Regions from separate parts of the Homo sapiens genome. Here all the other regions are linked to region 4. The links are contacts of gene promoters, found by promoter capture Hi-C in human tissues and cell types (Jung and others, 2019). All regions are on one chromosome and are shown on one strand. The core of a region is centred on a gene start or on the middle of the fragment in contact, and the rest is flanking DNA. Distances in the headings are between cores, read along the strand shown. Region 1 overlaps ATP9B (ATPase phospholipid transporting 9B (putative)). Region 2 overlaps RBFA (ribosome binding factor A). Region 3 overlaps PARD6G (par-6 family cell polarity regulator gamma). Region 4 holds the start of CTDP1 (CTD phosphatase subunit 1). Region 5 has its middle 8.3 kb from the start of ADNP2. Region 6 overlaps ATP9B (ATPase phospholipid transporting 9B (putative)). Region 7 has its middle 4.0 kb from the start of PARD6G-AS1.

Evidence for each region. The method cuts DNA at HindIII sites, captures the fragments that hold promoters and counts their contacts. A contact is called where the count stands out against the background at its distance.
Region 1: a fragment that was not itself captured here is called in contact with the fragment with the promoter of CTDP1 in region 4 in 2 of the 25 tissues and cell types used here (H1 embryonic stem cells and dorsolateral prefrontal cortex).
Region 2: a fragment that was not itself captured here is called in contact with the fragment with the promoter of CTDP1 in region 4 in 2 of the 25 tissues and cell types used here (IMR-90 fibroblasts and spleen).
Region 3: a fragment that was not itself captured here is called in contact with the fragment with the promoter of CTDP1 in region 4 in 1 of the 25 tissues and cell types used here (spleen).
Region 5: a contact is called between a fragment that was not itself captured here and the fragment with the promoter of CTDP1 in region 4, in 3 of the 25 tissues and cell types used here (dorsolateral prefrontal cortex, lymphoblastoid cells and spleen).
Region 6: a fragment that was not itself captured here is called in contact with the fragment with the promoter of CTDP1 in region 4 in 2 of the 25 tissues and cell types used here (H1 embryonic stem cells and dorsolateral prefrontal cortex).
Region 7: a contact is called between a fragment that was not itself captured here and the fragment with the promoter of CTDP1 in region 4, in 1 of the 25 tissues and cell types used here (spleen).

What each region holds. Positions count from the first base shown.
Region 1 is chr18:79,332,866-79,335,878 of GRCh38, reverse strand. The region is part of intron 17 of ATP9B (ATPase phospholipid transporting 9B (putative)); the gene reads right to left. Among named protein-coding and RNA genes, the nearest start is that of NFATC1, 62 kb to the left of the region's middle. RefSeq lists a silencer at 1-79. The HindIII fragment of the contact is 8,839 bases long and covers 1-3,013 here.
Region 2 is chr18:80,048,888-80,051,803 of GRCh38, reverse strand. RBFA (ribosome binding factor A) reads right to left here. Exons shown (of 7, transcript NM_024805.3): 7 at 1,153-2,916. Among named protein-coding and RNA genes, the nearest start is that of RBFA, 16 kb to the right of the region's middle. RefSeq lists an enhancer at 2,067-2,916. The HindIII fragment of the contact is 5,421 bases long and covers 1-2,916 here.
Region 3 is chr18:80,166,127-80,168,880 of GRCh38, reverse strand. All of the region lies in intron 2 of PARD6G (par-6 family cell polarity regulator gamma), which reads left to right. All of the region lies in intron 1 of PARD6G-AS1 (PARD6G antisense RNA 1), which reads right to left. Among named protein-coding and RNA genes, the nearest start is that of PARD6G-AS1, 20 kb to the right of the region's middle. The HindIII fragment of the contact is 6,518 bases long and covers 1-2,754 here.
Region 4 is chr18:79,678,530-79,681,229 of GRCh38, reverse strand. It overlaps CTDP1 (CTD phosphatase subunit 1), which reads right to left and starts at 1,427. Exons shown (of 13, transcript NM_004715.5): 1 at 969-1,427. The coding sequence starts at 1,282. It overlaps CTDP1-DT (CTDP1 divergent transcript), which reads left to right and starts at 1,485. Exons shown (of 5, transcript NR_136643.1): 1 at 1,485-1,836. RefSeq lists enhancers at 1,286-1,794, 1,795-2,302. The HindIII fragment of the contact is 29,025 bases long and covers 1-2,700 here.
Region 5 is chr18:80,099,555-80,102,364 of GRCh38, reverse strand. No RefSeq gene overlaps it. Among named protein-coding and RNA genes, the nearest start is that of ADNP2, 8.3 kb to the left of the region's middle. The HindIII fragment of the contact is 4,451 bases long and covers 1-2,810 here.
Region 6 is chr18:79,312,398-79,315,366 of GRCh38, reverse strand. All of the region lies in intron 15 of ATP9B (ATPase phospholipid transporting 9B (putative)), which reads right to left. Among named protein-coding and RNA genes, the nearest start is that of NFATC1, 82 kb to the left of the region's middle. The HindIII fragment of the contact is 3,897 bases long and covers 1-2,969 here.
Region 7 is chr18:80,142,597-80,145,296 of GRCh38, reverse strand. No RefSeq gene overlaps it. Among named protein-coding and RNA genes, the nearest start is that of PARD6G-AS1, 4.0 kb to the left of the region's middle. The HindIII fragment of the contact is 4,554 bases long and covers 1-2,700 here.

The DNA of each region.
Region 1 (3,013 bases), core at 144-2,643, 350 kb after region 4:
GTGTTTTTGGGCAAACGACCTCATTTTTCTGTACTTGTTTCCTCCTTCATAGAAATGGGCTCATAAGAGTGTTGCTCTGGGACTAACTCCGTGAATCTGCGTAAGTTCTTCTTGCTCTATTTTTAACGTGCATGTAACTGGCCTTGCAGGGCAGCCAATCATGAGCAGTAAGCGCAGTTAGTGATGGAGGGGAGGGCAGGAGTGCAGGGCCGCGGTGAGAGCTGGGGTTGGTGGGGACACGGCCAGATCCCAAAGCTCACAAGCCTCACCCTGCATTCGCCTTCCAGAGTTGGGGGAGCCCTGCAGGAGTCACGGGGCCTGATGTGCGTGTTAAAGCAAGACATGGAAATGCCTGCAATGAGCTCATGAAACGGTGCTAACCGTGTTCAGTCAGGGAAGGTGTCAAAATAAAAAACACTACTTTCCCATTAGAGGTAAAAGTGCAACAGTTTTAGCTGGTGATGGGTGAAGAAACAGGCTCTCTGGGACAAGGCTGAGGGGTGGTGCAGGAGCAAACCTGTGTGGAGGTAACACTCTCAAAGTTAAACTGCTCATACCAGTGACACACATCCCAGTCCTGGAAGTTCAAACTGCACTTACAAAAGTAGACCCTGATGTCCACACGAGGTTGACGCTGCCATATTGCTTACATGAACGAGGGTCAGGTTTTAAAAGGCTTGAACGAGCCTGCTCATAGTTAATAGCTACATCCTGCATTTCCACATAGCCAGCGGAGAGAATCTGGCAGAGCGGCAGAAGCCACTTCTGGAACTCTGCGCTTTCTGTGCCATTTCCTTGTGTGCAAAGTGAAAACAGTTCCTCCCTCACGTGGTTGTGGTGACGTGAAGGACACCCAGAGGGACAGGCCTCATGCGGCCACAGGAACAGACGCGTGAGGGCACGTGTTCCTGCAAGGCAGGTGAAGAAACAAACCCACCCCGCTCTCCTACCCGGAACAAGGCAGTGTGGGCGACTGGGCAGATGTGGGAGGGAGGGCACCGGTGGGTCTCCTACCTGGAACAAGGCGGTGTGGGCGACTGGGCAGATGTGGGAGGGAGGGCACCGGTGGGTCTCCTATCCGGCACAAGGGGGGGGTGGGCGTCTGGGCAGATGTGGGAGGGAGGGCGCCGGTGGGTCTCCTGGGGGCCAGGCGTGTGTAGGACTTAGCTGTGAGCACACACGGTCCTGCCCAAGGGGCCAACGTCTGGGGGATGCAGACAAGAGGCAGGGGTGGAGGGTGCTGGGCTCCCGGACAGCCCCAGGGGGTGTCGGGGCTGTCAGGAGACAACCCCACCCCCCTCTGCTGTGTGGACCAGGACGGGGCTCAGGACAGCCGGGCTCTCTTCCAGGGATACAGAGAGGCCCTACAATTGATTACTAAGTGCTGGGTGAGGTGTGCCTAAGCTTTAAAGCTGTGGTGTGTTCTATAAAAAGTACATTAAAAAAACCAAAGTAATGAACACTAAGCTGTATAACTATCAATTTTTGAATCTAGCAGTTTCTAACTTTTTTTTTTCTTTTTGAGACAGAGTCTTGCTCTGTCACCCAGGCTGGAGTGCAGTGGCACGATCTCGGCTCACTGCAAGCTCTGCCTCCCGGGTTCATGCCATTCTCCTGCCTCAGCCTCCCCAGCAGCTAGGACTACAGGCGCCTGCCACCACCCTGTCTATTTTTTTTGTATTTTTAGTAGAGACGGGGTTTCACCATGTTGGCCAGGATGGTCTTGCTCTCCTGACCTCATCATCTGCCCACCTCAGCCTCTCAAAGTGCTGGGATTACAGGCGTGAGCCACCGCGCCCAGCCTAGCAGTTTCAACTTATTAGGGCTAACATACTTTAAGATGCTTTAACAGTGACCCTCCCTGTAGAGAGGGCTTCTCTGTGCTCTGGAAGGTCCCGAAAGATTCGCTGCTTAAGACTCTCCATCCAGATGTTGTTGACTCCCTCTCAAATTTCAAATTTGAGCAACTCTTTCAAATTTTAACCATGTTTACAAAGCTCCTGTCTCTGACACTGGGGTTGACAATACAGAGAAATCAGTGGTAATCACATCTTCCTGAAGCCCCAGGAACTTTCTGTAGCTCAGGTGGACACTCCCAACTTAGCTACGGCCGCAATGAGCCCGCAGAGGTGGTGCAGCTGCTAACCTGCCCTGCCACCATGACACACGGCGAGAGGAGAGGTCTTTTAGAGGCTATTTTGGTAACCTCCAAGACCTGCCCTGCCACCATGACACACAGTGAGGGGAGAGGTCTTTTAGAGGCTATTTTGGTAACCTCCAAGGAGAATAAAGCTCTACGTTACAGCTAGAGAACAACTAATCAAAAACATTATTTTCAATGTATATTTAAAACTTTAAAAATGTGAACATTGATAATGCAGACACTTAAGCAAGGATATCCTAAACAAGTTAATTAGCTACACTTGTTTACGGAAAAGAAGATCAAATACTAGTAAACCTGGTTTGTGCAATGTTGTGCTGAACACTGAGAATCTGCATGGCAGGGAGAAGAACATGACAGTGTCCCTAAGGAAGGCTCCGCCAGCCCTTGGGGTGGACATGCAGTGGAGAGGCCAGCTCCTCAGACAGCAACAGAAAGCCAGAGATGGCAGTTGCAGCCCAGACAGCTGGGACTTTGGGCATCTGACCTTTCTCAGCACTGCCCAGGAAAAGTGCTGAGAAACCACCCGGGCACAGCCGCACATTTGGAAACACATCACGGCCCCCCAGGCACGCGCAGAGACCCTGTCACCACCCATCATCTCTCCTGGGCATCAGGCAGCCCTCCATGTGGGAGGCCCCACTCTAATGAAGCCAGTGTACTGTATCTGCTGATCAAGGTTAATCTGTAGGCAAATAAACATTATTGAACTCTTCATATTATTTGCAATTTCTTTTTAATTCATCCAGTTGATTGTATTTGACGTTGGACTGGAGGCTGCAGGGATGGCAGGAAGGGCTGGAGGAGAGGCGTGGGTCTAGCACCCTTCTTTATGCATCCAACAGCTGTGTC
Region 2 (2,916 bases), core at 417-2,916, 370 kb before region 4:
CATTTCTGTGGTGTTAGTTGTACTGCCTCCATTTTTATTTCTGACTGTGTTTATTTGCATCTTCTGTTTCTTGGTTAATCTAGCTATCAGCCTATCAATTTTGTTTACTTTTTCAAAAAACCAACTTTTCATTTCATTGATCCTTTGTATTTTTCTTTTGGTCTCAACTTCATTTAGTTCTGCCCTCATATTTCTTATTTCTTCTGCTAGCTTTGACTTTGATTTGTTCTTATTTTTCTAGTTCCTTGAGGTGCAATGTTAGGTTGTTAATTTGTGATCTTTTGTATGTTTGAAGTAGGCATTTAATGGTATAAGCTTCCGTTTTAGCACTGCTTTTATCGTATCCCAGAGGTTTTGGTGTCTTGTGTCTCTGTTTTCATTTGTTTCAAAAAGTAAATACTTAAGAGTAAGTTCACAGGGAGAAGCCCAACAGACACCCCTTTCTTCAGCTCATCATTGTGGACATCACCAGGAACATACAACCCAACACTGACAGCACAGCATCACTGCTGTGATGTCCCTGCAAAAAAGCAAGTACTAAATGTGATCATGAGGAAACACCAGACAAGCCCAAACTGAGGAACACTCCACAAAATAACGGCTGCACTCCTCAAAATTAGGGCCACGAAGGCTCAAGGAAGCCCAAGAGCTACTCGAGGGCATGGGATTGAGGGTGACAGGTAAACATAACAAGTGCCTCTGGAACAGGCCCTTTGCCATACAGGACATCCCTAGGGCAAATGGCACACCTCAAAGAGGCCTGAGGATTAACTGACATCAGGGCTGGCTTCCCAGGTGTGCTGCCCATGTGGGCATGGGGACCTCATGCTCGGTTAACATTCTGATGTTACCATCTTTTTTTTGAGACAGGGCCTCACTCTGTCGCCCAGGATGGAGTGCAGTGACTATTCACAGGTGCAATCAATGTGCTTGCAGCCTCAAACTCCCAGACTCCAGTGATCCTCCTGCCTCAGTCTCCTGAGTACTAACAGCACGTGCCACCGCACCTGATGCTACACCAAAATTTAACAGTGGTGTCTCTGGTAGCTGAGACTACATGGGGCTTTTGTTTCCTCTATTCTATTGGTATCTGTTTTAACATTTTTCAACAAAGAATATATATTCCTTCTGTAAAAAGAAAGTATGAAATTATTTTTAGAAATACAGAATTAATTTATTTCAGTATCTTGCCAGCACCCACAGCATTTATGATCTTTGAGGCCACAGTAGAGCAGCAGCACAGAAGGGTGACTATAGTCAATAACAATTTAATTGCATATTTAAAAATAACTAAAACAATATAATCGGATTGTTTGTGGCACAAAGGATAAATGCTTGAGGGGATGGGTGCCCCAGTCTCCATGATGTGCTTTTTCACATTGCATGTCTGTATCAAAACATCTCATGTACCCCACAAATATATACACCTACTCTGTGCCCATGATAATTAAAAATAAAAATAAAAAATTTTTAATCAGGAAACACTGATCATGACCTGTCCTCCCCAGTTCCCTCCCTTCCTGTGTCACAAACCAGGAACCAAAAGGTCTCTGCTCCCCTTACCCTGGCCTGGGTGGCACAGGCCTGTCCTTCCTCTAGCTCTGTCCCTTCTCCCTGCCCTGTTGTCCCCTCATTCTTCCCCCAAAATACACTCAAGCCCTCTCTCCTTCAAGGCAGCTGGCAAATTTTCAAAGTACCTCAAGTTTCTGATGTAAAACCAGGTTTTCCTTCTGGACAAAAGGAGTGGGGAAGAAAACTGTACTTCTATTCCTAAGAGAGGGTCTCAGGCCCTTAGAGAGGAAAAGATTCTGTACTAAAGATAATACTGGAAAAAAATCAACCCAGGGCAGTCACCCGTAGAGCAGAGGTTCTAATGCTGGCCTCATACTCAGACCACCAAGGTGGCTCTGGCCCGTCTCCAGGCCCAGGTGTCTTCAAACAGCAGGTGTTTCAGATGCACAGCCAAGGCTGAGAGGCATTGTGCTGGATGTTGGGTCCAGTCTTCTGGGGGCCTACAAGGGGTGATTAAGTTCCCCTGTCTACCTCAAAATGTTCTAATGTTTGTAGAGTTGCTTACTGGGCCATCTGCATTACCAAGGAACAGCGAACCAGAAGGCTGAAGTGGCCGACAGTCTGGTTTTATGAGCCCCCAGGGGATGTGCCCGGAACTTTGAGAACCATTGACCTTTACTAACAAGGTAAGGGACAGTGACACAGGAGAGCTTATCAGACTGAAAACCTGTGAAGTCGTTTCACATTTCATCAGCAGTTTAACAGTGACAGGTACTTGTAAAAAGCTCACAAGGTTGATCTGAGGACTTCACTGGATCAGTGCCTCCCTAACTTCTGGGTGTTTAGTGTGCGTGCACGTCATCTGGAGAGCTGCGGAAAATCCCCAGGAGTGGATCATCCAGGGAAGGCCATGGAAATCCCCGGGAGTGGACCCATTCAGAAGGGCGTGAGCTTCCATGTCCCTAACCTGCTCCCAGGAAAGGCCGTGGAAATCCCCAGGAGTGGACCCATTCAGAAGAGGGTGAGCTTCCATGTCCCTAACCCGCTCCCAGGGAAGGCCGCGGAAATCCCCAGGAGTGGACCCATTCAGAAGGGGGTGAGCTTCCGTGTCCCTAACCCGCTCCCAGGGAAGGCCGCGGAAATCCCCAGGAGTGGACCCATTCAGAAGCGGGTGAGCTTCCGTGTCCCTAACTCGCTCCCAGGGAAGGCCACGCCAGAAACAGGGAGGCCTAAGCCAGTTTTCTCTGAAACGTGCCCACACTCCTCTTTCTAGGAGGCACTGAGCTGATGCCTGGTGGGATCCCCTACAAACGTGCCCACACTCCACTTTCTAGGAGGCACTGAGCAGACGCCTGGTTGGATCCCCTGCAAACGTGCCCACACTCCACTTTCTAGGAGGCACTG
Region 3 (2,754 bases), core at 176-2,675, 490 kb before region 4:
AAAACTTGTAACCGTGAGAGCTTCATAGGACCAGACTTCAATTTCCCCTCTTGTTACGGATACTTCAAAATAGAAATGGAAGAAGAAAATATAATTTAATTTGACGGCTGGGTGTGGTGGTTCACATCTGTAATCCCAGCTACTCAGGAGGCTGAAGCATGAGAATTGCTGGGAGGTGGAGGCTGTAGTGAGCCGAGATTGTGCCATTGCACTCCAGCCTGGGTGACAGAGCGAGACTGTCTCCAAAAAAAAAAAAGTTTATACATATACATACACACACACACACACACACACACACACACACACAAACATAATTTGACTGAAAACAGGATATGGGGAGAGAGGGTGGTTAGACAGTTGCCTAAAAAATGTGACTCCTTGAATTGTTTACTTTGTGGAAAATACCAGATTTAACATATTGCTTGAAAAAGAAGCAGTGACAATTTTTTTCTTGTAAAAAGGTATTTTAGAAATCAAAGTTGGAATTTTAGAAATGGGGTATTCTTTAAAACAAATTTTATTTCTAAGAAAGTTTGGAATTTTTCACTAATGAAGTCCATATGCAAGGGTTCATATTTAAAGAGATGGAGAAACGGATTGTTGTCTGAAATTCAGTCACCTCGTCCCCATACCACCGCAGCTGCATGCGGGCAGTACTTCCTGCACCTCCCACTGCAGACAGGCTGAGGTTGTGTGTTCTCTCACCTGAGCTGCAGCTCACTGGAAGCAGGCGGGGTGGTTGGCACCAAACGCACCCTGGGCCCTTGGATGCTGGGGAGGGGGTTCAGGGTGCAGACCACGGCCGGCCCATCTCTTCAAGAGTTCAGGAAGAACCAGAGTCGCATGCACTTGCTGGCCCTCCTCCAAGTGGGGTGTCGGCCCGTTTCCTCCACGGAGCCACTGGCTCTTTTGCCCCCTGCCTATGAACGTGTTCATCTTTCAGCTTACACAGCCATTTGACAGTGGTAGACATTACTTAGCTCATCAACCTCCTGTCATTCAGAATTAGTTTATGAACCCATGGCATCAACCTCACCTGAGTGTCCTTGAGCTGCACCCCAGGCCCAGGGGTTCAGAACCTGCCTTTGTACAGGGTGGTCTGTGTGCCTGCTGCTGAGAGGTGCTGCACCATGAGGGGATACACTCCCTGCTGCTCAGAAATCCCCTGGGCGTTCATCTTAGGCCATGTTCCCATGGTCGTCCTCCCTACGTGGCTCAGAGCATCAGAGACGCTGGGGGAGGAAGAGAGGACAGGCCTGGGTACATCTCATGGCCCCAGCTCCACCCTCTGCAGCGCCTCCTCCCAGGACCCCAAGTCTGTCTGGAAACATGGTGGAGCGTTGCTGCTGCCTTGCCTGTCATGGGGGTTACACAAAAGACCTTCCCTGTCCAGGCCATTCCGGGGCCCTGAATCCCTGAGCCTGTGTCCCTGTCCCCAGGAGTACCTGCTCCAAGCTTGCTGCCCTGAGTGAGCTGCTGCATGAAGAGCCGTGCCCTGTCCTCAGCACTGCCCATGTGTTATCCTGCACACACATCCACACGCAACACTGCCCATGTGTTATCCTGCACACGGGTCCACACACAACACTGCCCATGTGTTATCCTGCAACACGTCCACACGCAACACTGCCCATGTGTTATCCGGCACACAGGTCCACACACAACACTGCCCACGTGTTATCCTGCACACACGTCCACACGCAACATGATGCTCTCAGGCAGGAACCACAACAGAGGACCCACAGCAGGGATGTGACCTGTGAGGCCCAATGGGTGTCACTTGTAATTGTGAACTGTCACTGTTTTGATTGGCCATTGTCTTGCCCTGAAAAGTGGTAATTATTCCATACGGTGACACACGGAGCCCTGCACCTTTAGATGCGCTGAAACTCCCTTGGAGCACAGGGCCAAGGCCAGAGGGGTCAGCATGGGATGTTAGGGTCTGGCCAGCACGACTGAGATCAAAGGGGGCTCTGGTTTGTTGGATCCTCAAGTGTTTGCAGTTGTGGGGCCCCAAAAGAGGTGGCTGTGGTGTGGAGAAGGGGCCCTGAAGGGACTTCTGTGAGAACAGCCCCCTTATGGTCGGGGGAGGACCAGACCTTCCTGGTCTGCAGGGAGGGCTATGCACTCCCCTGAAGTTCCCCGGGAAGGTGGACATGGGGAGTGAGGACCCTGTGGACTGTCTCGTGCTCTGAGGATGTAAGGAGCCAGGACAGGATGAAAGGGGCACGTACCTCCCCTGCTTGTCTGACGCTCTCTACAGAGGACATTTACCAGAAACTTGAAAATGCTGCTGTAAAAAAGCTGCCACGGAGCTGTTGTGTTTGGGGCAACTAGATCTGACCATGGAGGAGGCTGTAACTGATCGCTTTCAATGAACTTGACGCCTTTAAATTCTAAGGGAGGTGGAGATTTTCCACTGAGACAAGGCGTCCTGATGCCCCCATGACCGAGGGTCACACCAGCAGTGTCTGCCATGGCACACGTGCCCCAGACTGTGTCGCCTGCTTAGCAGAATGCAGTGGGGCTGCTGAGAGAGACACTTGCAGCCCTGCATCTGGGCCTTTGTTCTGCTTGGGGTGCGGCAGAGAGGAGGAACACACTCATGATTGGGGTGGTGTGCTGTGTTGGTGCCGACCTGACCATACGGTGTCCATGAGCTGAGGCTGTGTGCCGCTGACATGACTGCCTTCATCTCAGAAGGAAAAATACAAGGGAACAGTCACATTTGTTTACAGGTCCAAATGGTGACAA
Region 4 (2,700 bases), core at 178-2,677:
GGACGTTCTGGGGCTGTGACGGGAAGACTCCTGTCCCAGTCCTCACTCTTGCGGAACCAGATGCAGAGAAGATCCTCAACAAACACAGGGTCAGGGCAAGCCAAAGGGACGAGGAGCCGCGGCTGCCGAGGAGGGAAGAGAGTGGCATCCCCAGAAGGAGCGGCACCTTTCCCAGAGGGAGCTCACGCCCGGCCCACTGCGGGCTGGAGTGTCCACCTCTCCCTGGAGTTTCTGTTCTCACAATCAAAACTACCAGAGCCAGGCGCACACGCGTGTCCACTTGCCCGCCCATCCCAGAACACAAGGGTAGATTCAAACATGGCTGGACACTTCGGTGCTACGGAAACATATCCCCTTCTGGGGTCAGAGCACAGCTACTGAGAGCTGTGGAGTCTGTCACAACGCCCACGTCACCCTGAAGCAGCCTGCGACAATGCCCACTGTGGTCAACCACGGGGCTACTGCCTTCGCTGCAGGCCTGGGTTCCGCCCGTTCCTTAGCCACGAAACAGAACTGCACCAGGTTTTACAACTGCGTTTCACAAAGTTTACAAAAATTTAAAGATGTGCACACACCCAACAGTTTATATTTCAATAACAGGTCTGGAGCCTGCCTGATGACTCTTGTGCTCACAGCCACCCATGAGTTTTCCTAAGTCACAAAGGTGGAGCTAAAGGAAGGGGCGGGGACTATCACTGCAGAAAGAAAGAAACAAACATAGCTTTTCCAAACAGTAACTTCGTGTCGCTACGCAGGACCCTTTCCTTTTATCTCAAAATGCTCCCCGTTGGTAAAACCACAGGTGGTGACTATCCAGTTTTAGGGGAGAAGCGCAGTGCCTGCGTCCCGCTTTATCGCTCCCTCACCAGGGGCGCCCCTGCCCACCGCGGACGCAGCAGCCCGGGGGTCCTCCAGGATCCCTCCCCGGAGCCGCCCGCCCTCGGCCCCGCCCGGCTCAGCACACTCACCCTGGGGCGACCACCTGGCCCGGCTGCGCGCACAGCTCCCGCACCACGCCCGCGCGCTCCGACCTCAGCCTGCGTTCCGGCCGCGCGGGGCGCACGCAGCCCCCGGAGGCTACACGGGACTGAGAGGCCCCGGAGGACTGCGCGGAGGCGGCGGCCTCGAACACGGCCAGCACCGAGCCGATGCGCACGGCCGCGCCCGCCGCCACCCTCCACTCCAGCAGGCGCAGCGGCGCGGGCCCCGGGCAGCGCACCTCGGCCACAGCCGCCGTCGGGGCGCCCTCGGCAGGAACGCGACCCGCGGCCGGCACCTCCATCGCGGACAGAGGGCGGGCGGGCGGTCGGTACGGGGCCTGCGCTGCGCTCAGAGCGCAGCGCCTACCGCGGCGACACAACCCAGGCGGCGACGCTGTAGTTCCTCTCGGTACCGGCTTCCACCCGTCGCCTAGCCCGCGCCGACTTCCTGGAGGGCGCGTGACGTCACGCAAGGGCGCCGCGTACGTGCGTACGTGCGCGTGTAAATACGAGCGCCGCGCGGGGCCGGAGCCGGCTCCGTCCTGGGACCAACCCTGCGTGCCGGCCGTGAAGAACTGCGTTCCTGAGCCCTACCTACTTTTCCTCGGAGCGCCGGCACCGTGGAGCAGCGGCATGCAACGCGGGCCGCTGTCGCCCAGTCCCAGTGACGGTCTTGGCGCGCTCGGAACTACGTATCCCGGCGTGCACCGCGGACAGAGCATGGCGGGACTACGAGTCCCAGCGTTCAACGCAGGCCTGCGTGCCATTACCCCATCACGCGCTGAGACCCAGCATCCCGAGACTACGAGTTCCGGCATGCACCGCGAGCCGCTCTCCTCCACTCCCATCGCGCACTGTGAGTCGCAACGTCGCGGGACTACGGGTCCCGGCATGCCTTGCGCGCCGCGGGCCCAGAGACGTGAGGCTGTCGGCGTCCTGGTGGCCCCGCCTCGTGTCCCCCCCCGGACCCCACGCCGCGGGAGCTTGGGGGTTGCGGTCTTCTCTTCCTCCGACCTCACCTTCGATGCGGAAGCGCAGGGGCAGGTGCGCCGCCCTCGGCCCGCGCAGGCGGTGGGCCCGTCTGGGGCAAGGCGCCCGGAAGCGCCTGGTTGGTTCAGAAAATCGGACCGCAGCGGGAGGGCGGGCACCGGCGCGTGGTCTCAGTGGCCCCAGGCGAACCCTGATGAGCAGCAGCCGCAAGTGGCTTACTAAAGGAGCCACTTTCTACGTTTGTCTGGAATTTACGTGAATTAAGCTGGCGGGCGGGCGGCCAGGCCTGTAGTCTCAGCACTTTGGGAGGCTCAGCACTTCGGGAGGCTGTGGCGGGCGGATCACCTGAGCCTGGGAGTTGGAGACCAGCCTGCGCAACGTAGCAAGACCCTATCTCTAAAACAGATTCATTAATACTTAGCCAGGCGCGGTGGCTGAGGTCCCAGCTACTCGGCAGGCCCAGGCTGGCCTGAGCCAGACCGCTCTGGACTGTTTTAATTTTTTCAGCCTTAATACCTGCCAGAATTTTTTTTTTACTATGTATCTTTGTCCTTACGTATATAAATTTTATATACAATTGAGATTATCCTGTATTTGCTTTTCCCCCCTCACTTTTATATGGTGACTTTTCTCATGTTAGGCTGAATACTAACATTTTGGAAACTGTCGGCCTGAAAACGAGCGGAGACACAGTTTCTCTAAGTAGAGAGTTTATTTGGGCCACACTTGA
Region 5 (2,810 bases), core at 306-2,805, 420 kb before region 4:
CAGAAACTTTCCACTGTTTGAGCTTGTTCTAAAGGTCTTGAGTCAGCTTCCTACTTCCTAAGATGGGTTCCTTGTGGGGAATCTCTAAAGCGTGAGGTCTGCTCTTGGAAGAGGCTTCCAATTGTGTGGGATTCTGGATTGCTTCTTTAGCAAGTTGTGAAATGTTACTGGAGTTTCACTGCTGTGGTTGTTGTTAACGTAGATGGTAAGTCCCTTCCAACACAATTTAAGAGCAATTTTCTCAGACATCTCTTCTAACAGACAAAATCTCCAGGTTGAAGATCATGAAGAAGCTATTTAGGAAGATGTTGTAAGAAGGGGGCTGTTGAATATTGAACATCACCAGTATTTTGCTCGTCTGGGTGCAGCAGGGCAGAGGCTAGTATCAGAGATGAAATCCCTAAATGCATTACAAGTTGTCTTAGTCCATTCAGGCTGCTATAACAAAATACCAGACTGGGTGGCTTATAAACAACAGACATCTATTTCTCACAGTTCAGGAGGCTGGGAAGTCCAAGATCAAGGCAGTGATCGGATTCAGTGTCTGGTGAGGTCCTAGGTCATCATCGAAGGCCATCTTCTCACCATCACCTCAAATGGTGGAAGAAGTTATGGGTCTCCCCTGGACCTCTGTTTATAAGGGCACTAACCCCATCTGTGAGGGCTTCACCATCATAACTTACTCACCTCCCAAAGACCCCACTCTTAATAAATCACATTGGTGGTTAGGATTTCAACATACAAGTTTTGGTGAGACATTCAGTCTATAGCACCAGTTCAGAGGGTAATTGATGTCACCCTGAAGGAGGGAACCATACGGCCTGAAGGGGAGTGGGATTACCTTTGGCCAAAGGAGCTCCAGGGTTTCTGAAATTTTTCCTACCTTTAATTTAAGGATGCCATTGGCTCTCTCAATCTATTCAGAATATATGGGTAGTGAAGGCAGTGTGGTTTGGGGGTAGGAGGTAACACTTTATAGGATCCTCTTATAATGGCTCCATAGAGTGTGTGCCTTGGTCACTTGATGTGAAAGCTGAGATGCTCCAGGTTGGAAACATGAAAGCAAGCAGCTTTTTAGGAACTGTAAGGGCTGTGGCTTTTTGGTAAGGAAATATTTTAACCCACCCTGAAAACAGACATGCAATAACAAACATCCTCAACTCTCACGGCGGGCAGAAGCCAGGTAAAATCCACCTGTATTAGTCTGTTTTCACACCGCTGATAAAGACATACATGAGACTGGGCAATTTACAAAAGAAAGAGGTTTATTGGACTTAGAGTTCCACGTGACTGGGGAGGCCTCACAATCATGGCAGAAGGTGAAAGGCACGTCTCATGTGCTGGCAGCAAAAGAGAGGAGAGCCAAGTGAAACGGTTTCCCCTTATCAAACCATCAGATCTCATGAGACTTATTCACTACCATGAGAACAGCATGGGGAAACCGCCCCCATGATTCAATTCTCTCCCACTGGGTTCTTCCCGCAACCCGTGGGAATTATGGAAGTACAATTCAAAATGAGATTTGGGTGGGGACACAGAGCCAAACCATATCACCATCTGAAGATGCTCACGGGGCTCTTGAGATTTTAATCCCTGGCCATGTTCCATCTTTACGGATTTTTCCACGATTATATTGTCGACAGGTCATAACACGTGCCTAAAATAATCTCAACTATCTTTTTAAAGTTCTCCCACCAATATTGATTTAAGATAGTAACCAATTTGTCTGTACCATGAGCAGTAGTTTCATTGAGAAATTTAGCCAATATTCATCTGAAATCATCTAGTACCACCAACAGGCCTTCTTAGAAGTGCCAGAGATTATCTGAGTAACGGTACAACCGGGCTTCTTCCATAATAGTGGATATCTTATAGTGGCCTCTTTGAATCCCTCCAGGGGTTTATTCTTTAGGGGTTAGATTAGGATCACAGCCTTTGTTAAAACTGTTTGGCATGAGGACCAAGTATTTCCTTTAGTTTCCATGGTGTCTCTTCTTGCCTAGGCCTCAACCTTAATAGAAGGGAAAGGCCTCACCTCTTTAGGAAGTAGGAGTCCAGCTAAAAGCTTCTGAACTTATCCATTTTGGATGGGGGTCCCAGTAGAAGTGAGAAACCTCCTCTGTTTCCAAAGCTTCCCACAGTTGTGTGCTGCTCCCAAAGCCCACCTGCTGCCTCTGTGTGCAGCCACTCTGGACTCTGACTGTCTGACAATCTCTAGTAAACACAGTGAGCTTGGCCATCAGGGTTGATTTTACATCGGGAGAGGATGATATCCTTAACAAAGAATAGAAGGTGGTGATAGCACATCCTACCTGACCACCCCCAGCTTCACTTTTGAGCTACAATCCATTCACAAATAGTATTAGGTCAGGGTTCTCCATCGAGGTCTCCAGTGAACCTAAAAAGTTACAGAAGGCTCCCTGGCTGAGGTAGCACTCCCTTGAGGCTCCCTTTCCTTGGCAGGGGCATGACAGCAGGAGGATTCAGGGCATTGCAGCGTGAACAGTAAGTGGAGAGGAACAGAATCTCCTAAAATGCTAATTGGCTGCCTGGGAAGTATGCATTCTCAGACAGCAGCAATGTCTGCATGGAAGCAGGAACAAGGAGGTCAAATGGGGAGACAAGAACTGTGATATGGTTTAGCTCTGTGTCCCCACCCAAATCTCATCTCGAATTGTAATCCTCGTGTGTCACGGGAGGAACCTGGTGGGAAGTGATTGGATCACGGGGGTGGTTTCCCATGTCATTCTTCTGATAGTGAGGGAGTTCTCACTATCTGATGGTTTAAAAGTGGCAGTTTCCAGTGAGTT
Region 6 (2,969 bases), core at 217-2,716, 370 kb after region 4:
GGTCCTGAAGGTCACAGTGTGAAGGCTTTATGTCACTGACAATGATTTGCTCCTCACAAATATATCTGACAAAACCCCACAATTAGTCTTGCTTCAATAGGCACACACGATAAAATGAATTAAAAAATACAGCACGCCTCATGCATTAGTGCCTACTTCTGTAAACCCAAAAGCAATACTATTAATAACCCACTTGTGCTCTGTCATTAATTATAGCTGATTCTTGCAAATAAATACTGGAGTCAGGCGATGACAGCTACATTCTGAAATACTATTTAAATACGGAACTTACCAACATGAGAAAACACAGCCACAGAGGGAAAAGAATGAGACTACTAAACAGCTAGTCTAGAGGAATAAGCAGTCATTAAGAATCACAGTCACTCTTTCTGGACCAAAAGAAGCCGGCGGTCTTCAAAGTTCCTTCCACCCCACGCCTTCAGCGCTTGAGCTGACACCCTCTGCACTCAGAGGCTCTGCCCACCGAGCTTCTGTCCTTCTCCGAGGGCTCATGCCACTAGTTCGGTGCTGGTGTCCTGCGACTGCACTGGACATATGCCCTAACAGTTAAACAGGGCTGAATTTTAATTCTGTGAGGGAACTTCCAGAGAGCATTTAACGTTTGCTCAGCTAGAGCCTGCTATGCTGAGCCTGCGGAGAGCAAGTGATAGGCAAGCAGAACTTTCTACTCTCTTAGAGAAAATGAAATATTGATCACTTATCATAAGAAACAATGACCGGGGCATAAGTAGGTTCCACATTATGAATACGAAATCAGTTATTTACACTTTGACAATCACCATCACATCTACCTTCAAGTATCGTATCACCACACATACCACACAAGACACATCACACTTCAAGTGTTTAATTGCTTATGCCTCACAGGACCTTTAAGGATTTAAAATTAATTCCTCAGAATTCAATTATTTGTATAATACAGATTCATCTATGCACATGTGTAGGTAAGGAGAAAGATTGTTTCTCCTTCAGGAAAAATGAAAATCAAAGACTGCTTATTTCCTGAAGAACAGCAACTGTGTATCAGCGACTAAAACTAGGGCACTCTACTTACTAAACTGCATCCTTCCTAAAGACCGAGATGACACAGCGCCACAAACAGGGTTTTAAGAGGATGGTATGGGTGCACAGTGGATGAAACTAGTTAAGTCTCTCAAATGATAATGTTGCTTATTAACCATAGATGTTGTGATAGGTCAGAGCTGAGGTTAAATAGAAAACATCAATTGAACCATTTCCCTAAATAAAGCTCCAGGGTGCAATATTCTAAGCACTTTATTCGATAAAAAATGCTTTTAAAACGGTACTTTGGTGATCGGGAAACACTACTATCATCCGTCAACCTAACTGCAGCAAAGTTCAATAAGCTAAATAATGAACCATTTAGATGATTTTCCTGAGGCTTTAGGGACTTGCAAACATTGCATCAATAGAGCTCTTTAAAAATTATGATGAAGTCTATTGTTTTCATTTTCAGATTTAAAATACGTTTTAGGGATTTTTAAAAGGTTATTTAATGTTCTGCTATTTTTTATCATTGTCCAATTTCCCAAGTAGAAAGACATTTTAGACAAGTAAAAAAATTTAACTGTAAGGTTAGCAATGTCTATAGTTTCTCTAAATTTTTAATAATCTTGGAGTCAATGAAATCTCTATTGTGAATTCCCAATTTAAGATTCAAAAAGTGTTATGACTTATATTAAAACTTAAAAATAAAAAATCCCAGATACTTTGAATAAAAAATGTGGAATAAGGTAATATGGTAAATATGTAATACAGTATTTTTAAAACTTCAAATACAGTTTTCTTTGGGAAAAATCTCTAGTCTAGGTTTCTCATATTTATGGCAGGAAAATCCTTCTTTTTCAATACATAATCACATGACATTTTTGAGAATTTCCAGAATGCCATAACAGAAAAAACAATGTGTTCGACCCCTTCTTGATAGGAATATGGGGGCTTGCTTCCTCTTACAGAGCGGTTGCTCATGACCTGTGTTTGTCTCACAGCCCACACTAGAATGCTAAGAAGACAGCAACTGATAAATCTTACAAGTCTCAACTCATCGTCTTGTCAGTCTAAATGCCCATATTTGCTTATGATTGTGGAACTACGCCTCTTCGCTCAGATTCTCTTTTACTAAATAAATGGATCTGAGACACATACACACACCCCAATTCCAAACGTGGTTCTGAGTTTAGCTACAGAGATTTTTACGTATCTATCAGTCAACACAATCTATGAACTGTAACAGGGCTGATGGCTAAAGGAAGCTTAACAATCGTGCCCACTGACAGAAAGGTGTAGCCAACAGCGCGCTGACAGGGAGTGGGAAGAGTGGAGCTTGGGTTTCCACATTTCCTCAAAGTTGAAAAACTCTATACGATGACGACATTGTATTCTGGAGCTTTTCTGAAATCTAATACTTCAACTGATCCCAATTTTCAGAGACTTTGCCAATTACTTTCTGAAAAGAGGGAAGTGACAATGTGATTCACAAGAAGGAACTTAAGTTCTTTATCGTAATTTCACATTGTACCAAAAAGGCAAATACCATCTAAACTTTGGGACATGGCCTTGCTAAACTATAGGAAACTAGCTCCTACTTAAACTTCCACTAATATAGTTTTAAGGACCAATATTCCTACAGATGTGTTTTACTCCCCTCCTCCCACTTGACCAGTAGCTCCCCGCACCATCTTCCCACACAGCCAAGGTTCGCTCAGCAGGCGACGCTTGTGAGCCCCTGAAAAGAAGGCAGATGTGGCGTAAGGAAGATAAAGCCTGCTACTCAGAACCTGCGAAAACACGGAGAGGGATGCCCACCCAGAAGACACATGGGAGTCCCGCGTGCCAATGGGCAGCTGGGGACCCCTGGTCTGGGGTGAGGGCAGCCAAGGGATGTCAGGCTAGGGAAGAGCACAGAAGAAGCAAACGAGCGAGTGCCA
Region 7 (2,700 bases), core at 131-2,630, 460 kb before region 4:
GTCCTTCAGACATTATGGATAAGTATTTTGACCCTGGAAACTAGAAGTTTAATTTAGACAAAACCATGTGCATTCTAAAAATGTTTTTAAGGATTTCTAAGTAGGACTCAAATAGGTAAGAACTGATAGACATGGTGATGTCCCTAGACAGTCTAACTTTATTACTAAACAGATTTCATACTGAACTTTGTTTTTCATAAGATACTGAACTGAAACCATGTTTAGCATTTTAGTAGCAACACATCTATTTTTAGTATCTCAACTTTTACCCTAATTTATCAAACCAGTTAAACACGGAATATTATATCAAAGCAAAAAAACAAAAACAAAAAACCGATGCTACAAATAGCTAGGAAATGGCTAGAAAATGTACAGCACTGGGAGTTGATACAGATGTATTCTGCTCACTTCTCAATTAGGAGCTTATTAGACAAAGATGATCACTACTATCACCTATGAATAAAAAATGAAGTCAGAAGTGAAGTCGTTTGTGACTAGGAAATGGGGGTACAGAGAACCACTGTAAATACAATGTGCAGTTCTGGGATGAGGTTATCAATTTTCTAACAACATGTGAGACATAACCAGAAGAGTGGCAGCCTTAGAACCAACACAATTAGACACCCAAGCTGCTTCATCCCAAAGGGGTCGTGGGGCTGGAAATGGGAGCAGGGGACAGAGCAGGGCAACAGAGCAGGGCTGAACTTGGAATTCCCAAGTGCATTCCAAAAATCCTTGCCCTCCCCTTCAATTCTGTCCTCTCCTTTCGTGTAGTCTTACTGATATATTTAATCATTTGAAAGCACATATAAAACCTAGAAAAATGTTTTAATAGCCAAAAATGACCTTCCCTAAAAAATTCCTAATCTCTTTAAAATGACCTCTTATAAATTCCCAGTTATTTTCATAAGCTGTTTTCCACAATATAATAACAAACGGTGGATGAATCTCCCATCCTTTTTAGGACCAAAGATCACTTTCCTTGTTGTAATGAGACGTCTAATCTGGGCCTACACAGGGACTCTTTCAAGCATTTGTAGCTTATAAGAGTCCAAATTTGGGATCCTAATTATATATATGTGATGCTTGGAGTTTGAATTGTTTTTATTTTCAGCAAACTGTCTTGTGTGGTTTTTCCATATATTCAGTCTTCCCATTCTAAACAAGCTGCTTGGTAGGAGGCCAGGAAGTCCAACGAGTGAATGGATCTGTGACTCTCACAGGATGTTTTTATGAATTTTATGACTCTTTCGAGATACACATACATCTAACACAGAAAGATTACTGTCAGAAGAACCACTGAACCACTAAAGCCTTATGATTCATTGCTAATGTTCTATTTTTTCTAGTGCACTTTTAGGTGAATGACAAATTATTTAACATTAAACTTTCCATATCATGGGTTCAAAACTGTAGGAAACTACACAATTTCTGGAAAAAAAATACATTGATTCATTGCAATTAATTCTGTATTTGTATTTGAAAGTATGACCTCACAGCTTAGTTTGCATACAGCAAACATAGACGTCTATGTGGCTGCCAAAGTTTAGTTTACACTTTAAATATCTTAAATTCTTATCGGAAAGTTCCCTTCTGAAAAGGACTTTATGTATTTTCTTTTTTAAAAGAAATAATGTTTAGTTCAGAGATGAGCATGCAAAAAAAAAGAAATCATGTTGCTGGTGATGAGCAAAATGAAGATAAGTGGGTCTGGAGCACCCTCTTTAAAAGGCCATGAAGAACAACACTAGCTACTGTTTAGCAACCTTACATATATTTTTCCTCTCAAAATGCACAGCTGAATCATTTGCGTGAATGACTGGTATTAGTATTTGTTTTGAACTGGACACCATGATGGGCCTAAAGATCCCTTTCAGACACCACAGGCTCTGGCGTTTCATCTACTTTATAAGGTGGTCTCCTAGACAGCAGTCCCCATATAAGCATAGGTCTTTGAGGTTGGTAGTTAAGTACATTCTCATTTTAACTCTCTATTATGAAAAATCTGATAATATTCTAGACTTTAACATTTTTCCAACCTTCTAGGTCACATATTTACACTTTTTACCCAAGGGAGTTCATGGATCATAAATTAAGAAACTCCTGAGTTTAGGATCTGAAGAAAGTGAAGGGCTGGGTACTGTTCTAAGTAATGTATTTTTAGGCACATTCACAAAATATGAAAACAGCTTCCCTACATAACCTCTATATTGCTAAAATGACATTTAAACTTGCAGTTAATATTAAAGACTTAGTACTTAGGACAAATGATCAAAAATCAGAATTCTAAAGCTGTGGTGTAGCATCTGCACAACAGAAAGCCGAACTTGCAGAAGCCTGAGTTAGCAGGTGTGCTACCAAGTAAGCCCTCATCATCAGAAACATCTCACACTTACTTTCACCACCTATGAAAAGAAATTAGCTTGAAGAAACTGGACACTTAATAACCATAAGAGAAACTTCCAGCAGTACTTCATAGATGGCAATTTTGTTGCTTAGTTCATGAAAATTCAGCAGAGAGAATCTAAACAGCAAAACTGCATGCATTTTTTTATCGTTGTTTTCACTAACTCAGGACTATCATTCTTCGTCACTAATATATTGTCACTATCAAATTTAACATGCAAAATGTTTAGAATGGCACCTGGCACATAGGAACTGCTCTGGTAACCATCTCTATGTTGTTATTGTTGACAGCAC